Regions from separate parts of the Homo sapiens genome. Here region 1 is linked to region 2. Evidence: promoter capture Hi-C in 16 types of primary human blood cells and fetal thymus (Javierre and others, 2016). All regions are on one chromosome and are shown on one strand. Each heading gives the region's core, a stretch centred on a gene start or on the middle of the fragment in contact. The rest is flanking DNA. Distances are from core to core; before and after follow the strand shown. Region 1 overlaps ITGAV (integrin subunit alpha V). Region 2 holds the start of ZC3H15 (zinc finger CCCH-type containing 15).

Region 1 (2,905 bases), core at 194-2,693, 180 kb after region 2:
TTTCCCCATGTAGTCTTTTTTTCTCAGTCTGGATTTGTATTGTTAACTTGTAGTGATCAAAAGAAGATCTATATTGGGGATGACAACCCTCTGACATTGATTGTTAAGGCTCAGAATCAAGGAGAAGGTGCCTACGAAGCTGAGCTCATCGTTTCCATTCCACTGCAGGCTGATTTCATCGGGGTTGTCCGAAACAATGAAGTAAGCAGGCTGCCTCTTTAAAAATTGAAATGCACTCACGGATCTTATTAACATTAATGAGCTGTTCCCCTATTTAGTGAAGCACAAGCTTAGCTATTCTACCTAAGGCTAAATTGATAGACAATGGAGTGCCTATCTTACATAATTCCTTTTAAGCCTAATACTTTGCATAATGCATTGATATGACATTTTTAGAATTGCAAGCTAAGTGCCTGGAAACAAGGTTAGATAGATAAAGTGTCTAAGCCTGTCCATCAAATTATTTGTCAGAGGCTGTATGGTTTTGTATGGTAGTCCTCTAGGGATCTTTCAGAAACACTTCTGCATTTCCATGTGGCAATTGTACCCAATTCTGGCTTTTTCCTTACCTCCTGGTTTGCTCAACTAGATTTATTTGCTTAGGACAAGAAACTGAAATATCCAACTGCGTGATACTTTATTTCCTTTCATATCCATTTTTTTTTTTTTTTTTGGTCTATCAAAGGCCTTAGCAAGACTTTCCTGTGCATTTAAGACAGAAAACCAAACTCGCCAGGTGGTATGTGACCTTGGAAACCCAATGAAGGCTGGAACTCAAGTAAGACAATTTAATTAAACGGATTTTTCTCCCTGGCAAATAGAAAAGCATATTGTTGTCTGGGCTCATAGTAATTTTTAAAAATAAACACTTCAAAACAATGTCCTTAAATTGGTTTCGATATAATAGTTAAATGATTAGCAGAGTTTTGCTTAGTTTTAACTAAGATACGAAAACAATTGGTTGTGCTCCTACACGGTTTGCAATCAGCTGCTCTTTATGCCTCCTTCACTTTAGTGAATGGATGAGAACGTGGTTTAAACTAAGGACTGAAATAATAATTTTTGCTATTTTACACTGATGCCTTAATGGATCCTGAAAAGCTACTCTGGCAACTACCAAGACTGTCAATCCTAGGTGAGCTAGATTCCATCACAGGCCCCACACAGAGGATCAAAGTGAAGGTCAGTTAAATCAGGCTCCCCTTCAGATGGTGGAGCAGGGTGCCCAGGAGCTTGAAAAGAAGCAGCCAATGGCTTGCTTTCCGAATCCTCTAAAAAGTAAACAAAATATACCTTGTAGAATTTCTAGTAGCAAGGACAAAATGGCAGCATATGCTGTGTGACTTTTTCAATAGAATTTATTTAATGACTTATTGATACTGGTACTTTGAAGATCTGTGGTAATACAGGTCTAAATATTCCATATTTCTTTAGTATGTTTTCTATTACAAGTCATTAGTATTTCTAGATGTATGGTATCTTAGGGATGAGAACTTGAACAAATTACCCTAAGTTCAGTTTTTCACGTGTATTCAATGTTTTATTAACAATGAGCATGCCTTTTATTTTCTCATATTCTCATTCTCTCTAACTTTCTGGTTATTATATAGTTTCTGCTTATTACAAGTAGCCAGCTCCAGGTTTTGTGGAGTGGGAGGCAGAACCCAGGAAGTACTGTTTTTATATGTCATTTGTGTGATCCCCAAGAAGCCTTCTTTTTTGTACCTGGTGGTTCAATTGTTTTATTTAAAATCTACCAATTTTCTGCCTGCAGGAATTAGGATATTTGGTGTTGGGAGTGTTATGAGAGGTGTGTGGAGAAATTCTGGTTGTGGCCCTACTCATGCCTTCTTTAGCCATGTTCCCTTACTCTAGTAAACCATCCATTTCTTCTTTCCTGGCCTATGAACACAGCACATACTTTGGTGGTTAGCTTCGTGTTATCAAATTATTGTACCCAGTTGCTAGACTTTCACTGGATCAACAAACATTTACTTTTGCACTTTTTAGAAAGATGGTTAGTATTATAAGGAGGTATAATTATGATTAATAATTGTTGTTAAATAGGCTCTCTTATGGATTGGTCCAGGTATATTAAGTAAAATAGGTTTGATAGAAAATAAGATTTAGTTATCTTTGTTCAGTTTTATTGTAAGCTCAGAAAAACCCCATTTTAGAACATTATTTTTTATTTAGACATTGGATTTGAAATTTTGCTAATTAGACATTGACTAGCATTACTATCTTTTCCTCTCTCCTTTAGCTCTTAGCTGGTCTTCGTTTCAGTGTGCACCAGCAGTCAGAGATGGATACTTCTGTGAAATTTGACTTACAAATCCAAAGGTATGAAAACAACTTATATTCACTTATAACTATCAAATAAATATTATTTGTTGTAAATATACTATGTAATATACTTTAAATATAAAGTAGCAGATTAAATTTTATTGCTTGACTATAGCATTTTAAAATCAATATTTACATTATAAGAATAATTTTATTGTCAGATTTGAGTTTGTAAAACAAAATTTAAAATCCAGAAAGAAAATGTTCATCTTCTTGGAATTAAGTGTTAATGAAAATAACTATTTTGAGGTATAAGCTTTACACTTGTTTCGTTTGTTAATTTTTAGTTTCACTGGGTTTGCCTCTGTATGTTCTTGGTTGTTATGCATAATTCATTTTTAAGTTTTTTTTTTTCTTTTTCAGCTCAAATCTATTTGACAAAGTAAGCCCAGTTGTATCTCACAAAGTTGATCTTGCTGTTTTAGCTGCAGTTGAGATAAGAGGGTCAGTATGAATACTTAGTTGAGTATCTCATTCTCATGATTGCTTTTTAAAGGTAACTGTCAGGCCTTAGCCTTTTCTGGACAATAGACCCTGCATGTTTAGTGGTGGTTTTACT
Region 2 (3,265 bases), core at 415-2,914:
GAGCCATTATCATAACATTATGAGACTCTAGATTCTTTGTAACTTCCCCATATTTGTTACTTATAATTCATTTGCCTCATAATAATAATCAGTAAAATTACTCAAAATCAAAGGCCCAAAGGGCATCTTTGGGGCACTAAAAGTAGGAAGTTAAGACAACTACATTCCATATGCAAACAAAGTCTCAAAGGAGACGATCCCCAAATAATCAAATGGATAATAATACTGAGTAAAGAGGGGGCTGGCTGCATCCCTCCATCCTCTGACAAGAACTATGACAATTACAAAAAATAAAGATGAAAATATGTAAAAGGGGGGGAGCCCATTAACCTGCCAATATGAGCCCAAATGAAAAAAAGTGTGTCAACATACACCTGCCATTCTCGACACAATTCTTTTTAGTAGCTATCACATTTCTTCTACACACACACATACACACACAAAACATACTTGGGGTTCCTTGACATTATCTTACGTAGAAAATTACTAAGCAAATAATCAATTTGACTAAGTAGGGGGGCTTATCGTTTTCTCCCTATTCAAATTAATGAAAAAGATAAAAAAACTTTTATCTATAAAGATGATTCTTGGTTCCACAATGCTTCTTAACAGAAATAGTTTAAACAATAATCATTTTAAAAAATAACAGCTAAGCATTGTACATTTTTAAAAAATAGTATTTTCGTTTGTACAAATATCAATGGGTCCCATTCATCATTCAAGTACCTTTTCAAACAGGATCTAAGTTTGTAATGTTAGGTAATAGGCATATAGGCTGAAGCCGGACTGCCAAGATTACAATTGCTGGCTCTGTCCTTAATATAACTTTGGGCATCTTTCTTCCTTTCTCTGCTTCATCTATAAAACGAAAACAGTAACAACTCCCACCTAAGTGTCGTTGTGATAACTAAATGAAATAGTGTGTGTAATGTGCCAAGGAATTTCTGGAGCTACCAAGCACTTAAACTAAGTTCTAACTAAGTTTGGTTACTTTCACGTTATAAAGGAATTTTTAGGAATCACCTAGGCACTCTCCTAAAGTCTCAAAATAACTTAATACAGTACTTCTAAGGAGTTCAAGTGCCTCCTTATCTGGGACGCCATCTCAGATGCTCTTCAAATGAAAGGGACCCTGCAAATGAAAGTTAACTTTTTCCATTTTTTAAATAATCCTTCGCAGGAATCTGAAGCACGCGACACTCACGGGCCATTCAGCTCCGCCTCTCCAGGGAACAAGAAGGTTAACTGAGTAACGTGGTCACGGAGCAACCCCGAGTCGCTGCGGCTGCTTAGTAGTCACTCAGGATGGGGATGGTACAGGGGACCATTAACTGGCCCGGCAGGAAAAGTTTCCCGGTGAGGTGACGATGGACAAGAGTCGCCCCATCGTAAGCGAAAGTGGACTGAGAGGAAGCACAAACGCATGGACTCAACCAGCTCGCCCAGATTCACCCTCAGGCCTTTTGCCATCTGAAAAGGGCCTATCGGATGCGCGACATCACGAGTGACGCGTAGTCATTTTCCCACGTCCCGTCCCTGCCCCCTCCTAGTGGGACGCAGTGGGCGCGCACGCGCAGCTCCGCTTCCGGGAGCCGCTCCTCGCTACCCACTATGCTCTGCGACATCGACCTGTCGCAAAGGCCGCGTTTGCGGGGCCAATGAGCGACTCGCTTTCCGTGCGGTGCGGCGAGTGAGGCCCCGGTCTTCCTCCTCGTCCTGCCGCAGGGCCAGAACCCCTGACGGTATTCAGCTGCGCGTAAGTCTGGCCGGTGCCATCTGTCTCCGCAATGCCCCCCAAGAAACAGGCTCAGGCCGGGGGCAGCAAAAAGGCGGAGCAAAAAAAGAAGGAGAAGATTATCGAAGTGAGTACCCACCCCTCCCCCACTCACGCCGCGAGCCCTCCGGAAAGCCACTTCCCCGCTCCGGGCTTCCCTGGGAGCCGGCTCGCTTCCTCGGGCCACGTGTTCCTCCCTTAGGCCTGTGTGGCCCACTGCCCCTTCTCCAGCCCCTGATGACGCTAGCTCTCTCATTACTATAGTGACGCTGCTGGCGCCCCCGCACCTGGGCTTTGCCTCTCCGCCCACACGCCCGTGTTCACCCACCCATGCACCCGGGTGCGAAATGACCCCTCGGGACTGGCACAGGGTTTTATCCTTCGCTAGTCCTCTCAGAATTGAGGAGATTTTCCAAGGTTATGTGTGAAGAAATACGCTGAACGGTCTCGGGCCAGCGTCTTTCTGGAAGACCGACTCATGACGAGTCTTTGTGTTCGTTATTTCTTTACCCGTCACCCAGGGATGGTACTGTTAGTTCTTTTGAACCAACAAATTACGACTTGGTGGCTTTTTCGATCCACCTCTGAAATGTTTAAAGTCCCATAAAGAATGGAAGGACTTTCCGTCACAACCCAGGGTCTTGAACGCAGAGCTTGGTACTTACATTCTGAAGTGGATTAAATAGGATAACGCCTTAAAAGAGATTAGGTTTCAGTGTCACTAATTGTGTGAAGTCCCGTAACCCAGTTTGAGATATATGTGTGTGTGTGCGCGTGTATATATGTATACATCTATGTGTGTGTATATGTGTATATATGTGTGTGTATATATATTCGTTTAACACATTGAGCCTGTAGCCCTTTAATGGCCAAGGAACGCTATTGACGTTCTTACATGTTGTGCACTTGTTTTCCAACAACTGAATTGAGTTTCCTTAAAAGATGAACCATATTTGACATTACGTAAACATACCATACAGACCCCAACGAGGTATTTCTTCCCTCGATTTCTGCTATTAATCCTCCTCATAATTAAATAGGACCTCTTGTACTTTGGATATAATTAGAAAAAGCCATGACCATTTTACCGCATAAGGTGTAAAGTCTGCTCATTGGATTTAAGAAAATGCTTAAGAATTTTGCTATACTTGGCCAGGTTCCAACTTTGGAGGAGAACTGGTATTCTTATTGCCAATTTGTACAGTTTAAAACTGTCATGAAGTACTATAGCCAGACACTTAAAAACAAAATATTACCTTCACATCTGTGTTTTCTATTACCTTATTTGAACAATCTGGATTCGTGGCACTTAGGTAAATTTCAGGGGTTGCTGATCGGATGGCATTCACTTTTATGAAAACCAAGGACATTTTAGGGATGTCGTTTTCCTCGAGATTGGACCCTGATACGAAGTAAAACTCCCATTGAAATTAAATGTTATGTAATAATTTAGACAATTTAAATTATACTTCATGCATTGTAGAGCTTTCT

The links. The method cuts DNA at HindIII sites, captures the fragments that hold promoters and counts their contacts. A CHiCAGO score of 5 or more calls a contact.
Region 1: a contact is called between a fragment that was not itself captured here and the fragment with the promoter of ZC3H15 in region 2, in 1 of 17 cell types (M1 macrophages). The highest score is 6.5, in M1 macrophages.

Annotation. Positions count from the first base shown.
Region 1 is chr2:186,664,441-186,667,345 of GRCh38, forward strand. ITGAV (integrin subunit alpha V) reads left to right here. Exons shown (of 30, transcript NM_002210.5): 20 at 54-201; 21 at 686-778; 22 at 2,264-2,343; 23 at 2,710-2,790. Among named protein-coding and RNA genes, the nearest start is that of FAM171B, 28 kb to the right of the region's middle. The HindIII fragment of the contact is 2,313 bases long and covers 288-2,600 here.
Region 2 is chr2:186,484,596-186,487,860 of GRCh38, forward strand. It overlaps ZC3H15 (zinc finger CCCH-type containing 15), which reads left to right and starts at 1,665. Exons shown (of 10, transcript NM_018471.3): 1 at 1,665-1,862. The coding sequence starts at 1,788. LOC105373785 (a long non-coding RNA gene) reads right to left here and starts at 1,405. Exons shown (of 2, transcript XR_001739147.3): 1 at 1,205-1,405. RefSeq lists an enhancer at 1,295-1,774. The HindIII fragment of the contact is 12,604 bases long and covers 1-3,265 here.